Regions from separate parts of the Homo sapiens genome. Here all the other regions are linked to region 4. Evidence: promoter capture Hi-C in 16 types of primary human blood cells and fetal thymus (Javierre and others, 2016). All regions are on one chromosome and are shown on one strand. The core of a region is centred on a gene start or on the middle of the fragment in contact, and the rest is flanking DNA. Distances in the headings are between cores, read along the strand shown.

Evidence for each region. Contacts are between HindIII fragments. The CHiCAGO score rates a contact against its expected background, and 5 or more counts as called.
Region 1: a contact is called between a fragment that was not itself captured here and the fragment with the promoter of PLXNA2 in region 4, in 2 of 17 cell types (monocytes and naive B cells). The highest score is 6.0, in monocytes.
Region 2: the fragment with the promoter of CD46 here is called in contact with the fragment with the promoter of PLXNA2 in region 4 in 1 of 17 cell types (fetal thymus); the score reaches 6.8 in fetal thymus.
Region 3: a fragment that was not itself captured here is called in contact with the fragment with the promoter of PLXNA2 in region 4 in 1 of 17 cell types (fetal thymus); the score reaches 6.2 in fetal thymus.

Annotation. Positions count from the first base shown.
Region 1 is chr1:207,971,050-207,975,590 of GRCh38, reverse strand. No RefSeq gene overlaps it. Among named protein-coding and RNA genes, the nearest start is that of LINC02767, 14 kb to the right of the region's middle. The HindIII fragment of the contact is 2,955 bases long and covers 420-3,374 here.
Region 2 is chr1:207,749,301-207,754,304 of GRCh38, reverse strand. It overlaps CD46 (CD46 molecule), which reads right to left and starts at 2,251. Exons shown (of 13, transcript NM_172351.3): 1 at 1,996-2,251. The coding sequence starts at 2,092. RefSeq lists silencers at 1,364-1,721, 2,301-2,410 and an enhancer at 1,991-2,200. The HindIII fragment of the contact is 3,093 bases long and covers 1,809-4,901 here.
Region 3 is chr1:207,885,715-207,890,185 of GRCh38, reverse strand. CD34 (CD34 molecule) reads left to right here. Exons shown (of 8, transcript NM_001025109.2): 5 at 565-721; 6 at 973-1,025; 7 at 1,340-1,504; 8 at 2,263-4,471. The coding sequence ends at 2,448. Among named protein-coding and RNA genes, the nearest start is that of CD34, 23 kb to the left of the region's middle. The HindIII fragment of the contact is 3,160 bases long and covers 1-2,844 here.
Region 4 is chr1:208,241,515-208,246,416 of GRCh38, reverse strand. It overlaps PLXNA2 (plexin A2), which reads left to right and starts at 2,033. Exons shown (of 32, transcript NM_025179.4): 1 at 2,033-2,774. RefSeq lists a silencer at 1,916-1,975 and enhancers at 2,494-2,993, 2,994-3,495. The HindIII fragment of the contact is 7,265 bases long and covers 1,012-4,902 here.

The DNA of each region.
Region 1 (4,541 bases), core at 648-3,147, 270 kb after region 4:
AGATCACTATAGCCTCAAACTCCTGAGCTCAAGTGATCCCCCCTCAGCCTCCTGAGTAGCTGGGACTACAAGCACATGCCATCATGCCTGGCTAATTTTTTTTTCTTAATTTTTTGTAGAGATGGAGTCTTGCTATGTTGGCCAAGCTGGTCTCAAACTCCTGGGCTCAAGTGATCCTCCTGCCTTGGCCTACCAAAGTCCTCGGATTATAGGCATGAACAACTGTGCCCAGCCTCCCTCTAGTTTCTTTCCTATATGCCCCTTTTTCAGCCTTCTTTTGGGTTACTTAGATAATTTTTAGTAGTCTTTTTAAATTTATCATTAGCATTGTGGCTAAATCTGTTTGTATTATTTTTTAGTGGTTGCTTTAGAGATTACTATATATATATATTTTCACATTCAAGTAAAATATAGAAGCTTTGCAACCACATAAAAGTCCTTTAATATTCCCTTCAAATGACTTCTATGTTATAATTGTCATTTGACTATATCCTCACACATTAAAAACTCCACCAGCTTATGTTATAAGTTTTGCTTCCAATGGTCCTAGGTGTTTTTTAAAACTTTTTTAAAAAGTCTCTTATATTTACCCAGATATTTACCACTTCTGTTGCTCTTCCTTCATTCCCTAAAATCCAACTTTCTTTTGTTATCATTATCTTTTAGCCTCTGATGAATTTCCTTTATCATTTATTACAGAAAATGTATTCTGGTAATAAATTATCTCACTTTTGCTGCATCTGAGAGTAGCTCTATTTTGACTTCACACCTGCAGGATATTTCTGCTGGATGTAGAATCCTGAGTTGACAGTTCCTTCTTTTAGTACTTTAGAGATGTTGATCCCATCTTCTGACCTTCATGGGACAAGAAGAAACCTGCAGCCCTCAGAACCTGTGTATATGTAATGTGTAGCTTTTCCTCTAGCAGCTTTAAAGAGTCTTTCTTTGCTTTGATTTTCACCATTTTGACTATGAGATTAGGTGAAGTTTTCCTTGAGTTTATCCTGTTTGTGGTTTACTGAGCTTCTTGAATCTTAAATTTACAAACATGGAATAATATTAAAATGCAAGAAGATGTTAATAGAAGCATGGAGCAGACACAGTGACCACCCAAAGGAGGAGCAGTCACTTCTACCAAGGAGGGGAAGGGGAAGGGATGCCAGGAATGTATGAGACATAGAGTATGGGACAGGCAGTCTAGGCACAGGGGACAATGTGAGAAAAACTGTGAGATATGACAAATACAAAACCCAGTTCCCCATTCTCCAATTCTCTCGCACGTCACGTCACTTTTTTTTTTTTTTAACAGCTGGTTTTGTTTTGTAACGTTCTTAATGACATCTTTGGGACAGGCACATTTTCTAACTCTGCCTTGTCTTTTTAAGGACAAAAGTAGCATTTCTCACTTTCCTTGTATCTTTTGAGGATGTCTAACACAAGGCTTTTCAATTTAAATAAACAAACAAACAAAAAAAACCCAGCAACCTGCTCTTTGGACAGCATGTGGGAGGCTAATGCTGGTTGTGGCTCTATGAAAATGAAGTGATAGAACCAAGAAACTCAGCTTTCACTGTTAAAACAGCACAAAAGCTGCCTCTTTAGACAGAACAAGTTAATTGATTGAAGCAGTTTGAGACTCTCAAATAATAGTAAAATTTCATTTTATTACCCAAACGTACACCTATTAAAATTCACCCTCCAAACCTTAGATGATCATCCAGAATTAATTACTACATTTAGGGGCTAAAATTGAGTGCTTTGTTGGTTTCTCTAGATAATTTACATATTATTACTTTACAATTCATGTTGTAATAATTTTTATTAAAATTAGTAAATGAAAATGGAATATTACATCCAAGTTTATAGAACCCTGGAATCAGAGTCACTAATCTTTTTCTCCTTTAAAATTACAATTGTCAATTTAAAATATACACATATGTAGAACTTAATCATTTATTTTAAAAAGAAAAGCATGAAACCAAAATGAGTTAGTATTTACAATTTCGTTGAGATTGTATCAAACCCACAATCAAAGTTGTAGAATGTAGAGAGCAAGAGGGAAAAAAAAACAGAAAGAAGTGGAGAAAAATTAGCCAAAGTAGAGAAGAGATGGAAAGCAAAGAATACCAAAAAGTAAGTCAGGGGAAGAAGCACTGTTTAACTTTGTTCAACTCTGGAACCCAAAGAACAGCCCAAGCACCATCAGTGCTCTAAGAGCTACAGTCCAGTCTGGACAACCTGGTTAGCGTCATCCTCAAACTTCAGCCGGGAGTAGCGTGCACCATTGGTACAAAGAGCTGGGAGTTGCAAGACAAAGACTGGAACATTTGTCGGAAGTCCTCCTGTGTCCACCAATTCCCGCAGAGACAAGTGGCCCTGGGAGCCCACACTTCAGTCCACAGCATTTCCTCCCACAGTCCACCTCTTTGGAAAAGCCTAACCAAAGGTAGTCTGCAGTCTGGGGGGTGGGTGTGAAGCGTTTGGTAAAACACAACCCACCTGTGAGATTCCTGCTATTTACTCAGACCCTGGGCACTCAGTGCACCTCCACACAAAATAGGGAGTGCGTCAGGAATGTGCCTCACTTTGGAGGCAGCACCCCCTCTCTCCTCCGGAGGAAATAACACAGTAGAGACTAAGGGAGCAGAGATCCCCAAACCCCAAAACATGCCCATCCATGCTGGAGACAGGAACTGCGAGCTCTTGCCATAGACTTCTGTATTTCTTTTATTCCATCTCTCAATATCCCTTTTTTCTGGCCCCTCGGCATTTTCCGGAGGTCTGCTCTGCCTGTCTTCCTCCCCCATCTTCATTTTAATTTTCTATTTATCTCATTGAGATCCTTCTGGCGAATGAGGTTCTTCTGGCCAGCTGGGACCTTTCAGGACTTTCCCTGGCTCTCTCTCCCACTCTAGATAAATCCACCCACCTGCCATGCTCCCTTCATCTCCTCCTCAAGCCATCCCAAGCACAGTGACTGGACGAGCCTTAGGAAATCCTCCAAACAGAGAGGGAGTGGGGCAATGTTTATGTGTCCCTTTCAGTATCACCTCTGAGCTGGGAGGGGACCGTCAATTCTTGAGCAGAGTCTACCAGAAACCCTGGCTCCACCGCATCCCTCCACTGGCAGAAATCGGCCCTTGGGACATTTCCTGACAGCTCTGACAGGCCTCAAGGAGACAATTAATGCCTCGCAGCTGCCACTAACAGAGAAGGTGCTGGAAGAGGGGGGGAACAGGGAAGGAAGTGTGTAAATCTGCAAAAAGTTATAAAGCAATAGGAGAGAGCAGGCAGGGAATTGAATGAGAATCTTACTGAACAAATTTTGCTTGGAATCTCCTCAAGGGCTGGTCTGAGGAAACCAAAGGCAAGCTTAGAAACACCACAGAGCTGGGCTTGTGGACATCTCTGCAATGGACATAACTTCTGGAAAGAAGATGAAAGCTGGAGAGAGGCAGAGTCTCTGTCCCTGGCCTGGAATCCTGAGATGTGGGTCCTTGAACCTTGCTACCTCCCACGCAGGGCCAGGGGACTGTCTAAGGTTACAGGTGCCCAGTTTCTGGGGCCAGGGAAGGGGAGGGCAGCTTCTGAAAAAGTGGTTTCTGACAAAAAGGCAGACAGACAGACAGACAGAGAGATGGACGGGTCTCCTTCTTTCCCAGACATCCCCACGATTGTCTGGGCAAACAGATGGGCCTTTCCTCCGGGCTTTATAGATTAATGTATCCTTCTTATCAATTATGGAGACAAGAAAGTGTAATTTTCTCCCCATGTTTATACTGTTCAGGATTAATCTGGCTGTAAATGGATAATCTGTCAGCCTTCTGAGACACTGAAGTGGGGAGGGGGTGGGGCAGGAAACGGGGAAGAGATTTACCAGCGGGTGATGCCATCTGCTTTATTAGGTTGTTTTATAAACCTGACATTCAATTTGTTCTGGAGGACTTGGTGACAGATTATTCTGTAAATTCCCAAATAATTACAATAACCAGAGAAAGGGAGAAAAGGGGAGAGGGAGGTGGGTTTGGGGGAGTAGGGGTGTGCGGCACGTTCGTGAGTAATGGTTCCAAGGGCAACATCCGTCCTCAGCTATTACCAAGGGTGGCTAAGAAAGGCTGGGCCTTAGAGGCAGGGGATTGACAAAAAGGGCCCTGACAGCCCTTCCACTCTGGGTCTCATATCATGTCCCTTTGTTTTCAAACCTTCAGACACCTTGCTCCCCACAAGATGGTGAATTCAAGTGAGCAGGGATTGTGTTATCATATTTTTATACTTAAATATGCATATCATATTATTTCTCCTGTCCCTGGGTCTAAATCCTGCTTCTCTCCTTACTAGCATATGAACTTGAGTAAGTTACTTAAACTCTGCTTTAAACTCTTTGACGGTCAAATTAGGACAATAATAGAACTTACCTCCTGTGGCTGCTGTGAGGATCAAATTAGTTCTTATATGTAAAGCATTTAAAATAGTGCTTGGCACACACTGAATGCTAGATAAACTATTTGCTGTATTCTCACTCTTTGTATGTTTATTCCACA
Region 2 (5,004 bases), core at 1,002-3,501, 490 kb after region 4:
AGCAGGTCAGGAGGAGAATGTTCCTGGGCTGAGGGAACAGCAAGCACAGATGCCCCAAAGTCTGTTTGATGAGCAGAGAAGCCTTCCCTCTCTCCAATCATTTGTTAAATGCTGTCAGATTTATATCTGAAAATTATACTGCTTGCCTCCAGAGCACTTCCCTTGGTTCATAATTTATTTGTCACTATTATGTTTTGGATTTTAATGTCTGCCAATCCCAATACATTTTAGCAAATAATTTATTGGTTATCTACTGTGTTCCCGGCACTGAGCACTTATCATTGAGCAAAACAAAGTCCCTGCTTATCTTCCTGCATGAATGTGTGTGTAAACAAATAGTGAAAAAAGGATCAAGAAAATAGGAATGGTTTGTTATTGCCTACCAGTGTAATAGCACCAGACATACAAGACCCATATTCGTTGAATGAATGCTCCTAAGGAAAAAAATGCAACGTAGAAACTATACATGTTATTGGATCCTAAATATAATTTGGACATAGATACACATGACGCGCACATGAAGGCAGAAACAAATATGCCAAAATATTAAAAATAGCTGTCTTTTGATTCTGTTCGTATCGCACAATAAGCATGTATTTCTTAGCGGGTTTTTTTTTTGTTTGTTTGTTTTGTTTTGACAGGGTCTCACTCTGTCATCTAGGCTGGAGTGCAGTGGCATGATCACAGCTCACTGCAGCCTTCACCTCCTGGGCTCAAGTGAATCTCCTACCTCGGCCCCCAGAGTAGCTGGGACCACGGGCATAAACCACCATGCCCAGCTAATTTTTGTATTTTTTTGTAGAGACAAGGTTTTGCCATGTTGCCCAGGTTGATCTTGAACTCCTGGGCACAGGCAATCACCCCGCCTGGGCCTCCCAAAGCGCTGGGATCACAGGCGTGAGCCACTGCGCCTGGCCTAGCATGCATTTTTAAAAGTATTGATTCCATTCAATGAAATACAAAATAAATTTAGTGGGATAGGCCTTAAGCTTTAGCTTATGAGCTGCAGGGGAAAACAAGATTAACATTATCTGCCTTCCTTTGTTAGGATACTAATTTCTCACTAGGTTTGGCTACCATTGTTTTTTAGGTTGTTTCACATCTCTCAAATATGACTCAAAGTAATGAAAAGAAGGAAAACAATGTCAAAAAGCCATTAGGCAATGGAATCAGATACTATCTATATTGGTTGGGAACAGGAAGAAGACTCGATGGCCCACCCACCCCCCAAAAAAGCAGCCATTTACAAACTAATAGGAGCTCAGGTAACACGGAGACTGTTCACAGAAGGCACAAAAAGCATGGCGCGCCCTTACCACCTCTCTAACCCCAGGCACCGAGAGCCTGCTCTCACTCAACATGCCCTCCCTAGCCCCAGAGTCCGCGCTCACTCCATTCAAAGCAAACAGTTGAGCTGTCTTGCCCACAGTGAACTCTGCACACAGGCCACTTACGCACAGCACGCTCCCAGCAACACCTGGCCAGGCCCCTGCTCGCCCAGCCCAGCACATGGGGCACAGCAGACGCACTGCAACCCTTACCGCGGGTACTGTCCAAGCCCTAATGAACACCCCACTCACCAAGGCACCAAGGGAACACAGGGCAAACTCTCACCACGGACACAGCACGGGCCCTAGCAACACTCCCACGCACCTGTGCACTCCAGAACAAGCCCTCACCTAGGGCGCCCAGTCCGCGCTCCCCTGGCCGACTGGCTCAATCCCGAAAACACGATTCACGCTTTTTTTAGGGACGCAGCCAGATCCTGCGTAAATGCTGGCCGCGCACACGACGCCACCAAACAAGCTTCACCTCGGGCTCTGCGTGGTCCCCGCATTCCCCGCCACATACCCCCGGGATCTGAGCACTGCACCCCTCAGAGAACCCTGTCCCCAAACAGGCACGGCCTGCTGTGAGCCCCGCCCCGCGACTCTTGCCCGACTGAGGAGAGCTCTAGTCTCGCCGCGGACGCGCGAACCCGCCCCGGGGTCCTACCGGAGAAGGAGTACAGCAGCAACACCATGGCCGCCAGAAGCAACCCAGGAAAGCGCCAGGAAGGAAAGGGACACTCGCGGCGGCCGGGAGGCTCCATGCGCGGCGCGGAAGACGCTGTTATTTCTCCGGAGGAAAGCAGAGAAACCGAGAGCCAGCCGAGCAGGGAAGTCCCTTCTGGGTCCAGATATGGGACGCAACAATCCCCAACTCACAAAGCATCCAGTGCTGCAGGACAGGTGGGCGTGGCCCGAGCCGCGCCCGGGGCGGAAGTGCGTCGAGTCACCAGGGCGGCTGGGGCCAATCGGCGGGCCGCGGGGCGGAGCCTCGGCGTTCATGGGCAGCCCTTGGCCTTCGAGAGGTCAGGGGGAGGCCCTGGCGGAACCTAACAGAACAGGTTCCCCGAGGCCGCCTTTTTTCTTGCTAAGCCCTTGGCCTACCATCCCGGAAGCCTGAGGCGTCCTGCGGGAAAGGACTGGCTCGCCGTCATATTTGTGACCCAGGCAGGGTGGAGAGAAAACTAAGCTGCTTTGGTAATAGTTTCCGGGAATTCGGGAGTCAAGAATAAAGCACTTCGACCTAAAAATAGAGATCCAGAGTCTAGACAGGGGGTCACCGTGGGCTAGCACCCCTCAGGGTTAGTTTTATCCTGGGGCACTGCAGGCTGTCAGGACTGCCTGGGCCCTTACTTGGTATTTGGCATTAGTCAGGCATTATTGGGAACAATATTTGAGTTTTTCTTGCTTGAATGCCTGCTACTGGATCGTCTCGGGGCCGTCTTGTTTTCACAATCTCAAAGGTTTGGCTTCTGCACTCCCAGCCCCTAAGGTAATTTGCCCTTTGCTCCCCTCCCTGGAGGGGACCCTTCCGAATCTAATTTATTAAGCAACACCAGGCAATTAGAATATTGAGACTCTATGGGGCCCTTGCCCTTGAGCAACTAAATTTTTTATTGAAGACGAAATATACATGCATGAACAATGTAAGGACAAGGGTGTCCTAAGTGCCAAATTCCTGGAAGCAATAAATGCAGAAGGATTCGGATGGGTAGAAATTGTTAGGTGAAGAGTGGATAAGGGGGAGAACTTTTCTGGTGAAACAATCTGAGGAACAATACTGGAAAATTAAGAATGAGCAGGATTGATTTGTAGGATTGTGAGTAAACCGGAATGACCGGTAAAAGGAAAAGGACATGACTGACATTAAAAGAGCAAACAAAGAGTTGACATTTCTTCCCCTCAGATTGGCAAAGAATTAAAACGTCAGCCAATGTGAGTGAACGTGTTGCAGGGGGACCAGCACTCTGTAACATAACTTTTCAGTATGTTAAAAGTCTTAAAGTGGACATGACTTGTGTTAGGCTCTCAGTTCCCAGAGAAATCATCAGAGCTGTGATCAAAGCTCTGATGTGATCAAAACTCTGATGTGATTAATTTTTGAAAAAATGTAAACCCTAAGTGTCTAGCAAAAGTAATAAAGAATTTCTGGCAGTTACCTTTGTGTGATGGAATTCTATGCAGCAAATATTGCAAAAGAATACCAAATATGAGAAACTATGATATCATTGTAAGTGGAAAAAGCAGAGTCCAAACTGGCATGTGCCTTTTGGCAGTCCTTTTATTAAAACAAAAGTACCATATTGATATGTATAAAAAGAAACTAGGAATACAGCAAAATTAACAATGGTTGATAAGATTACAGATATTTCACTTTCCTTATGCTTTTCAGTTTTCTATGTTGACCTTATGTTACATTTAGAATAAAGTAAAGAAAATGTATTTAAAAAATCAAACCTATATATCAAGGGCTGTTTTGTTCATAGAATTATGGGAGCAGAACTTGTATTACACAGGGTTAACCTATGAGAGGACGGTGAGGAACTGGATGCTCAGTGTATAAACCTAAAATGGGTCTTATAGAATTATAGAGTTTAAGTGTATTTAACACAGTTTTATAACCGAGATGTACTGAACAATTTCTGGGTTCACCAAACCATGGAATTTCCTCTTCCTGTCCGACCAACAAAAATTTTTAAATTCTTGGCAGAGATTATAAGACATTAAGTGTGGAGGTGGTATATCAGATAAACATCTTAGTATCTTGGATTATAAAATTCAACACTCCATGACAGCAATTAAAGCGGGTATAATTAAAGAGATGGTAAATAGGAAACTCAATGCGGGAAAATTATTATTTCTGTTAATATATGGTGTCAAAGAGTGATATAACAGATATGTTCTGTGGCTCAAAGCCAGCCTTCATTTGTGAAAGTGGATAGTCTATTTACTGTTCTCAGCAACAATAAATATTAAAAATTCTCCATCCATTTTCAGGCTTGGAAGAAAAATGTCTTTTTTTCTCATGAGAAATTTTATTATAAACTATAGAAGAAAAAATAGTGCTAATGTTTGATTGCCTAGTTTCGGGTGTCAAATTAGATTCAAAGATTGGTATTTTGTTGAAATTTTCTTTCAATCAGTAAAATTTCTATCCCTGAGTTAAGCCATTCTTAACATACTCGAAGACTTTCACATTAAATATTTAAAACTTATTTTTATTTGATTCAACTGAGGCTTTATTTGAATGGCTGAGCCTTGTTCTCTACTTTTTGGATAAGTTTCGTGAGTCAGGGATAGCATTTTCTCATATCTACAGTGCCAAAATCTATAGTAGGTGTACAATGAATAACTGGTAAATATTGGATGAAATAAATGGTTCTTGTGGTCAAGTGCATTTAACATGTCTCTGCCAGTTCTCCCCCAGCATGAATTTACCAAATGCCCACAAAGTTCTGAGAGATTTTGATTTAAATAATTTTAACCCTAGGAAACAAATCAAGATTGGTCTGTAAAAGGGATGAGCTACAACTGTCTGCACAGCAAACTTTCCTAAATCAGGTGTTGCAAGCTTACTTGTGAAGTGGAGCTGTGGTCTATCCCTTAGCCTTGAGATCATTTTAGTGACTGAGTTCAAAGGGAGGGTGTCGACAGTGAACTTCCTGAGGCCTTAACA
Region 3 (4,471 bases), core at 15-2,514, 360 kb after region 4:
TTTAATGGAAAACAGAGATGGAAGACGAGACAAAAATGCCATTTCAGTTTGAGCAATGCACTTTTTGAGACTCCTTTGGGTAGAAAGAGGGAGGAGGCCACTGAGGTTTCCACTGAGTGTATATTATAGATTTGTTCTCTCCTCCTCACCTCCCTTGGCTTTTCTTCCATCATTGGGGACTGCTGTAATCTTGAAACAGAATATTTTCTCTTAGTTATTATTGCATTATTAATATTTTCTGTTTTTGGCCATTTCTTTTGAGTTTAATTTGCATATGTGTACATGGGCAATGCTTCAACGAGACAATTTTTTTAAGTTTGTTCTCTAACATCTTAGATACTAGAAGATATGGATTTTGGTCCTGGGAGATTATTTAGGTTTTTTTCTTATTGTGTTGTTGCACATATACAGTTAGCAGTTTTTTTTTTTTCTGTTGGAATTTTAGAAACAAGGATCCTTCTTGCGGACGGGGTAAGAGTATGACTGTAATCAGAGACTCTGGGTGCAGTTTAGGGCAGAGCAGTAATTTCATCTCTTGCTCTCCATGTTTCTCTGTCTTCCCAGGCGGAGTTTAAGAAGGACAGGGGAGAGGGCCTGGCCCGAGTGCTGTGTGGGGAGGAGCAGGCTGATGCTGATGCTGGGGCCCAGGTATGCTCCCTGCTCCTTGCCCAGTCTGAGGTGAGGCCTCAGTGTCTACTGCTGGTCTTGGCCAACAGAACAGGTAAGGTGCACCTCTGCCTGGGGGAACAGGGAAGGAGTAGGGCTGAGGTTAGAGAATCCTGGGTGGAGATGGGGCATCTTAGATCCAGAGAGACCACAGGTGCTGGGGAGAAGGACTTGGCTGGCTTTGGGAGCGGTCCCCCCGAGATGGACCACCCTGGCCATCAGAGCATCTTCTAGAACAGCATGGGAGGGTGGAGCAGGATAAGCTGGTTTCTCTTTAGATTTAGCAACCCTTGTTTCTAATTCTAGAAATTTCCAGCAAACTCCAACTTATGAAAAAGCACCAATCTGACCTGAAAAAGGTAAGTCCTCTGAGATGATGGGCCTGAGAGGGAATGCCGGGGCAGGGGGGCTCCCTGGAGTAAGGGGGGAAGTCATTATCTTCCCCAGTTCTACCTACCATCCTTCTCTGAGTCTTCTCCTTTCTAGTCTTGAACCAAAAATGGTGGGGTATGACTGAATTAAGAGACGTCAGTCTCAAATCCCATTTCAAAAATTCCTGAGGTCAATGCCCTCAAGCATCTGTTCACTGTTGAGTCACACACAGAGGGCTGGAGCGGGCTGGGCTCCACTTTTGGCAAGTGACAGGCTGTATCTTCTTTGTCTTCTTTTCAAGCTGGGGATCCTAGATTTCACTGAGCAAGATGTTGCAAGCCACCAGAGCTATTCCCAAAAGACCCTGATTGCACTGGTCACCTCGGGAGCCCTGCTGGCTGTCTTGGGCATCACTGGCTATTTCCTGATGAATCGCCGCAGCTGGAGCCCCACAGGAGAAAGGCTGGTCAGTTCTGGGGGCCAGGGTAAAGGAAATGAGGAAGATAGTGGGTTTCTGGGGAGTTCAGTGGATGTCATGGAGCAGGAGGAGAAATACTAGAAAAAGCCCTTCTGTGAGCTTACATAAAGATATGCATGTGTGCACACACAGTAATCGGTGGAAGATTCAAAATATTATGTAGCAAACTGGGGAGGGGACAGTAATGGTGCCAGCCCACCTACTCGGTGTGGTAGCAGATGATTCGTGTCATCTATTCATTATGTTTTCTGGGATAGTTCAGCTTGGGGCCACCAGAACAGGCTGTTTAATCAGCCACACTGTATTTGCAACCGTGTTAAATGCCCAGTGGGTGCCCCCTTGCTCAAAAGGAGGTATACGGAAGGAGAATCCCCATTTGCCATTCTGGATGAGGGAGGACAAGGCTGAGGTCTGAATCTTGGCCTCTGGCCTGTCCCCTACCCTGGGGAGGTCATCCCACCCTTCTTGGAACTGCCCGTTTTCCTGCGGGAGCTGGCTGCCGAGCTGCGGTGGCATGGTGTGGTGCCTCTCCTATGTCCTTTCTCCTCTAGGAGCTGGAACCCTGACCACTCTTCAGGAAGAAAGGAGTCTGCACATGCAGCTGCACCCTCCCTCCGATCCTTCCTCCCACCTCCCCCTCCCCCTTCTCCCACCCCTGCCCCCACTTCCTGTTTGGGCCCCTCTCCCATCCAGTGTCTCACAGCCCTGCTTACCAGATAATGCTACTTTATTTATACACTGTCTAGGGCGAAGACCCTTATTACACGGAAAACGGTGGAGGCCAGGGCTATAGCTCAGGACCTGGGACCTCCCCTGAGGCTCAGGGAAAGGCCAGTGTGAACCGAGGGGCTCAGGAAAACGGGACCGGCCAGGCCACCTCCAGAAACGGCCATTCAGCAAGACAACACGTGGTGGCTGATACCGAATTGTGACTCGGCTAGGTGGGGCAAGGCTGGGCAGTGTCCGAGAGAGCACCCCTCTCTGCATCTGACCACGTGCTACCCCCATGCTGGAGGTGACATCTCTTACGCCCAACCCTTCCCCACTGCACACACCTCAGAGGCTGTTCTTGGGGCCCTACACCTTGAGGAGGGGCAGGTAAACTCCTGTCCTTTACACATTCGGCTCCCTGGAGCCAGACTCTGGTCTTCTTTGGGTAAACGTGTGACGGGGGAAAGCCAAGGTCTGGAGAAGCTCCCAGGAACAATCGATGGCCTTGCAGCACTCACACAGGACCCCCTTCCCCTACCCCCTCCTCTCTGCCGCAATACAGGAACCCCCAGGGGAAAGATGAGCTTTTCTAGGCTACAATTTTCTCCCAGGAAGCTTTGATTTTTACCGTTTCTTCCCTGTATTTTCTTTCTCTACTTTGAGGAAACCAAAGTAACCTTTTGCACCTGCTCTCTTGTAATGATATAGCCAGAAAAACGTGTTGCCTTGAACCACTTCCCTCATCTCTCCTCCAAGACACTGTGGACTTGGTCACCAGCTCCTCCCTTGTTCTCTAAGTTCCACTGAGCTCCATGTGCCCCCTCTACCATTTGCAGAGTCCTGCACAGTTTTCTGGCTGGAGCCTAGAACAGGCCTCCCAAGTTTTAGGACAAACAGCTCAGTTCTAGTCTCTCTGGGGCCACACAGAAACTCTTTTTGGGCTCCTTTTTCTCCCTCTGGATCAAAGTAGGCAGGACCATGGGACCAGGTCTTGGAGCTGAGCCTCTCACCTGTACTCTTCCGAAAAATCCTCTTCCTCTGAGGCTGGATCCTAGCCTTATCCTCTGATCTCCATGGCTTCCTCCTCCCTCCTGCCGACTCCTGGGTTGAGCTGTTGCCTCAGTCCCCCAACAGATGCTTTTCTGTCTCTGCCTCCCTCACCCTGAGCCCCTTCCTTGCTCTGCACCCCCATATGGTCATAGCCCAGATCAGCTCCTAACCCTTATCACCAGCTGCCTCTTCTGTGGGTGACCCAGGTCCTTGTTTGCTGTTGATTTCTTTCCAGAGGGGTTGAGCAGGGATCCTGGTTTCAATGACGGTTGGAAATAGAAATTTCCAGAGAAGAGAGTATTGGGTAGATATTTTTTCTGAATACAAAGTGATGTGTTTAAATACTGCAATTAAAGTGATACTGAAACACATCTGTTATGTGACTCTGTCTTAGCTGGGTGTGTCTGCATGCAAGAGTGACACCCTCCATTAGACCTAGCTAGACTGTGCAGTGATGTGGTGGGGAGGACCAGCCAGGGAAGAGGGAGCACCTCAGCAGACACAGGCACCAGCCAGGATGCTAAGGACCTTTAGCCAAGTCTGCCAACTATTCTCCTCCATGGGGAGAGGAAACATCCATTTCCAGTGGTAGAAAGGCAGACCCGAATGTACCAGGGAGCTTCCAAATGGAGGGTGGTATGTTGGGTTCTTAGGAGCTGTACCCTTCATGAACACCCTTCTGAGAAGAGGAGCATGCTGATCACTGCTGCAAAATATGCAAAACAAAGGGAAGGGGCAATGTCCTGTGCACCCTTTATTATCAGGCCACCCCCCTCCCCAGCCCCCCAGGTCAGAGTAGACACAGTGAAGGACTATGTGGGGACTGTTGTTCTAGAGACCTGGCAGCCAACTCAGGGAGGGGGCTGGTTTCCACCCTCAAGATTAAGACAGCAGCCTAATTAAAAAAAAAATCTGTAAGCATGTACCTCCCCCCAGCTTCCAAAACAACCCCCACCCCACCCCTACCAGGCCATAGGAAGTTGGGGAGGGAGTGCTGAGGAGCTCCAGGAAACACTCCCAAGTGTGTCGACAGTGGCAGAGGCAGTTGGGGCCAAACAAAGGTTGATTCTTCCATTCTTATCTCCATAAAGCCAGACCTTTCCCTTCAGCACTCCTCCACCCCCATCTCCTTCTTGCTTTTCTCCAACTCCTCTAATCATAGGTTCTTCCCTAGGACAGAGGGGAGGCGAAATG
Region 4 (4,902 bases), core at 784-3,283:
CACAATGTGTCCTCCCGCCTGTGTTCCCTCTTTCTCTCCCTTTATTCAGGAAAGAGAGGGGAGGTGTGGGGATAAAAGATGGGGTGAGTGGAAGAGTCTGTTTCATTTTATGCTTCCTTGCTCTTCATTCTAAGATTTATTTCTGGACCACAGGAGTGGAGGGTGGCATATGAGAAAATTATTTCAATTGTATCATAATCTTCCCAAGGTGTGATTAAATTGAGGCATAGGGAAGAGAGGTGACCTCTTCCAGAGTCAGACACCACTTGATTTAGAACCAGAGGGCCCTAATTTTCAGCTTGGAGCTTTATCAATTAGATATCTCCAATCCTACCACGGCTGGTCTTAGGTGTAGCTGGCCAAACTCCATGAACAAATGGAGGAAGTGTTCCAAAATCTTCTAGCATCTTCTTCAAATCATCTTTTTTAATAAATTGTGGTTTAGATTCAGTCTACCCAGAGATAAAACGATCGACTAGTCTGTCTGCATGGGGAGACAAGATCTACTTATAAAAATAAATAAATAATAACACAGGGTAAATATGATAATTTATTGGTGTGTTACCAACAATGAATGCTAAAGAAGTTTGAAGGAAAGAACAGGTATGGATCAGGCAACACAGCTTAGACAGATTCTTTGTGGTCCCACAGGACAAAACTAGCAGTAGCCAGTGAAAGTTACAGGAACACAAATTTCAGCTAATTACAATGAAGAACTTTTGAAGAATTCGCTGATTTCTGCAGATGTTGGAGTAAAGCCTAGATCCCCCAGTCCTGTGTTGAATGTGCGATTGTTCGAGATGACTGGTTAGTCTAGATTTCCTTTTCTTCTTCCTCTCTCTCTCTCTTTTCTCCGGCTCCCTTTCTTCATCCTTCCCTCCCTTCGTTTCTTCTGCCGCTACTGCTCTAAGAATTTGGTGCAATTGCTTTTAGGTATTCGCAGTGATTTTTGTTGTTTTTTAGATTTATACCACTGAGGACTGTGGCCACGAGAGGGCAGTAGAGGAAGCTTATCAGAATACTTGGACAGGAGTAAACTCGTGTGCGCTCTAATCGCGAGCAGGGACTACGCAGATCCTGCGAACTCGCTGGGGTCCAGCTTGCAGGCCGCTTCCGGAAAGCCGTGTCTAGAGGCTGCGGAGTTACTGAGACTGTGTGGCGAGGAATCAGTGGCCTTGAGGGCACCGAGACATTGTCATCCAGAATCCCGAAACCTCTCACCTTAGGTTATTAAAATAAGTTATCTTATTGCCACCCCTCTGATTACCCTGCCAGAAAGATTCTCTGAATTGGATATAGAAAGCTCTTCTCCCGTCCCCAATGCCCCCATGCAAGTCGGGACTTACCAGATGCCCAGGATCCCTATCAGGGCTGGAAGTTTGAGATTCAATTCAGAGCAAGGTTCATCTTCTCATTGCAATAATAATAATAACAACAACTTCAAGCCTTATTTGACAGCTTGTTGGCCTTTTTCTTTTTTTAATTTACAAGAAGAGGAAATTTGCTCCCACAAATTCCAAGACTCTAGTCTCAACCCTACCAGACAAGCCCCGTTCCTCCCCACTCACCCCTCACTCAAATTACAGATGAAGAGGGAGGTGTGCAGGATGTGTGCGGTGACAGGTGATGCGAATGGGGGGGATTCCCTGTCCCTACTGCCCTCACCCACTCTTCCTGTGTTCTGAGCTCCCCCCTAACCCCAACGCTAGACCTTCTATTCCCCCGGGGGCCAAGCCAGCTGGGCTCGCAAGGCCCGACTCGAATTCCCGGGCCCTGGCAGCATTTTCCTTGCCCCCTTGGCTACTTAAGGTGGCCGATGGGTCCGGGCTGAGCTGGGCGCAGGACAGGCAGCCGAGCGGCCTCCGGATGCCAAACCTGCTTCTCCTTTGTTGACAGCTTGCGGAGGAGGAAGTCCGCGCGGGCGGGGGAGGGGGCAGGGTGCTGGCGGTGGCGGGCGGTGCCAGCAGCGGGCGCGGCCCCAGCCCGGGCGGACGCGGCCGGCGGGGAGGGGGTTAACGCGCGCGGCCTCTATGATAATGAGCTGCATGGTGAAATAGGGAGGCCGGCGCTCAGGGCTCCTCCGCCGCCGCCGCCGCCGCCGCCGCCGCCGCCACCGCGGGAGCCAGAGCTGCCGGGAGGAGCGGCATCCGCGCCAGACTGGAGCGGGAGGGCGGCGGAGGGCAGTTGCTGGGAATTTTTCAGCCGAGAGGGCGAGCGATCCGGAGAGAGACCCCGAGAGCTTGGGAGCGGTAGGGCGTGCGAGCGCCGCAGCCAGCGGAGCAAACCTCGAAATAGATCTGGAAAGCCAGGCTCCCGGAGGAAATGGGACTGTGAACGAACCGGAGAGCAAGAAGGGAAGGAAGCGCCGGGATTGCTGATGTCAGAGGAGCCCGGAAAGTCGCGCTGGAAAAATCTGAAGACAGCCGGGGCTCTGCTTCTTCCTCAGGAGAGACACCGCCGGCCGCCCCCACACGCCCCCTCGGCGCCTCCGGGTGCCCCCTGAGAGCCGGCGACAGCGCCCAGCCGGGCTGCTGCGGGGCGACGGAGGACTGAGGGGCGCGCGGAGCGGAGACCGAGGAGCGACTTCAGGAATACAGATAAGTGTCTGGTGGCTTGACGTGGATTTTAATGAATTTGGACTCCATGTGGATTTGGTCGTCTCCCTGATTCCGAGCTGCGGGCAGGGAGAGGGGCCTCGCGCCGCCCTCAGCAGCCGGCGGCGGCCGAGGTAGACCGAGCGGGGACGGAAGGACAGACCGACGTCGCCGAGCTGGGTAAGCGGCGGCTGGGCCGGGCGCTCGGAGTCGGCAGCGCCCTCCGCCCTCTCCCCACAGGCGCGCACACCCGTGGCGGCTTCTCCCGCGCCCGCCTCTTTGGGGTCCCGGCCCCAGAAGACCCGGCTTGGCCGCGGCGGGCGAGTCCCCGCGTGGGCTCGGCCACTTTCGCGGGCTGGAGCGCGGCGTGCGCGCGATCGCAGGCTCACTGGAGCCGCTGCCTCCCGCCGAGGGCTTCCCGGCCGGCAGCCCGCCGGCTTCCCGAATGCGGGCTGAGGGCGGCAGCAGCGCTCCGCGGCGCGCCTCCACCGCGCACCTGCCGGCGCTCTGCGGCTTTGGGGAGCTCGGGGCGGCAAGGCTGTCCTGAGAGCTGGAGCCCAAAGAGGGCCTCGGTGGCACCAGCGAGACAGCCCAAAGCCACACTGGCCAGCGATCGATTTGGGGGCGTTCACTCCAGTGCCGGGGTCCCTGGTGGCCGCCGGCTCTCCCTTCCGATCGGGGACTGGAGATCAGGGGAATGGGAAAACATCATTTGCGCGGGTTCCATAAGGCTCAGGGAGAGATTCCTAGGCACTGAATGGGTCTAAGTGTTTCATCTCCCGGGGCTCCCTTTGCGGTGTATCGCCCAGCAGGGGTCCAGCCCCTTAGTTTGAGCACCACAGGAGTGCTGGGGGTTGAAATGGGAGTTTGCTTAGGGTCCCAGAGGCTCCTTATGAACCATTTGAGAATGTTTCCTTCCATGTGCTCTTTCTTGCCCCACCCCACAAGTGAGGTAGGGATCCTAGAAAATTCTAGCCCTTTTTATCCATCCCACAGGTAGTCTCTATAATGCCAATCATGGTCTAGATGCCCAGAGAGTCACCAGAAACTACCATTTTAGATCCCCGAAAAAAGTCCACCTGTTTGGAATGACCCTTGCCCTAGTGGGAGCTACCTACTCAAACTCAGCTCTGCTCAGGAGGGATAGAAATAATGGTGGGGAGGAAGTTGGATAAAAGATTTGGGGCTCTAGGTCAGTAAGGGTCTAGAAATGAGAGCCCCATGAAGTGGGCAATGGAAATCTGAACAGGTCCCCTGTAGGAATCTTAGAGTGACAGTGGCACACCAGTAGAAAGTGCACAAGGGACATGAAGGCAGCATCAGTTTGAGGGGACTGGGACTGCCAGTCATAGCTTGAGGCAGTCACTTGGGGGCCCATCAGTTTGGAAGAACCCACAGAAATTTGGGGGCACATTCATTTCCTTCCATTCACGCGCACAGTGGACAAGGCTTATGAGCGGCAGGCCAAGATGAGTATCTTGGCTGGCCTGGGCTGGAGGCTTTGAGAGCAGGAGTCAGGTTTAGCTCTCCCCTCTCCCCACACAATAGCAGTCTCCCTCCTTTGCTGGGCTTCTTTCCCAGATCTTGAAACTTCACTCTTCCCTCTGGGTTGGCTTTGGATTCTGGGGCCTTCTACTGATTGACAGAGCCCCAGGAAGAGATAACCTTGGCTGGAGGAATTCAGCTATTCCTAACTGAAATGCACAACTTTTATGCAATAACCCCAGAAAGCTCCCAGAGTTGCTTGCAGCCCTCTCCCCTCTGACCTCCAGGCAAGAAAAGAGAAGAATTCATTAACTTCCCTCTCTCTTCACGGAGCACCATTTGAACTAATTACCTGGGATCTCTCCTTGGTGGTGGCCTGGAGGCTGAAGGGGCAGTGAAGAGAAAGGGTAGGGAACCAAGGAAACAGTGGAATCTGTCATAGCGAGGTTGTTTTTCATTCCCCTTCTTCCACCTGGCATCACCACCAACCCCTCCTCATTCCAGAACTTGCCCCTGCTGCCACCAACCAGCATTACCTAAAGGAGCTATTTCCCTCCACTCCGCAGCCGATCGTCTTCAGGGACCTGCTGATAAAGGGAGGGCAATGCAGATTACCCTCTCTGCTCCCTCACTGTCCTCAGCAAATTGCATTAGGATGGGGGCAAACTGGCTTGCAAAGCAGTTAAATGGAAATGACATTTGGAGCGATGTGCAGGGAAGATGCTGAGGAGCAGCAGTGGTAAAGTACCAGGAGATCTCTATCCAGGGACCATGAGTCTGCCAAGGAAATCCCAGCTGGTCCTTCTTTTTGGCAGGGCATAAG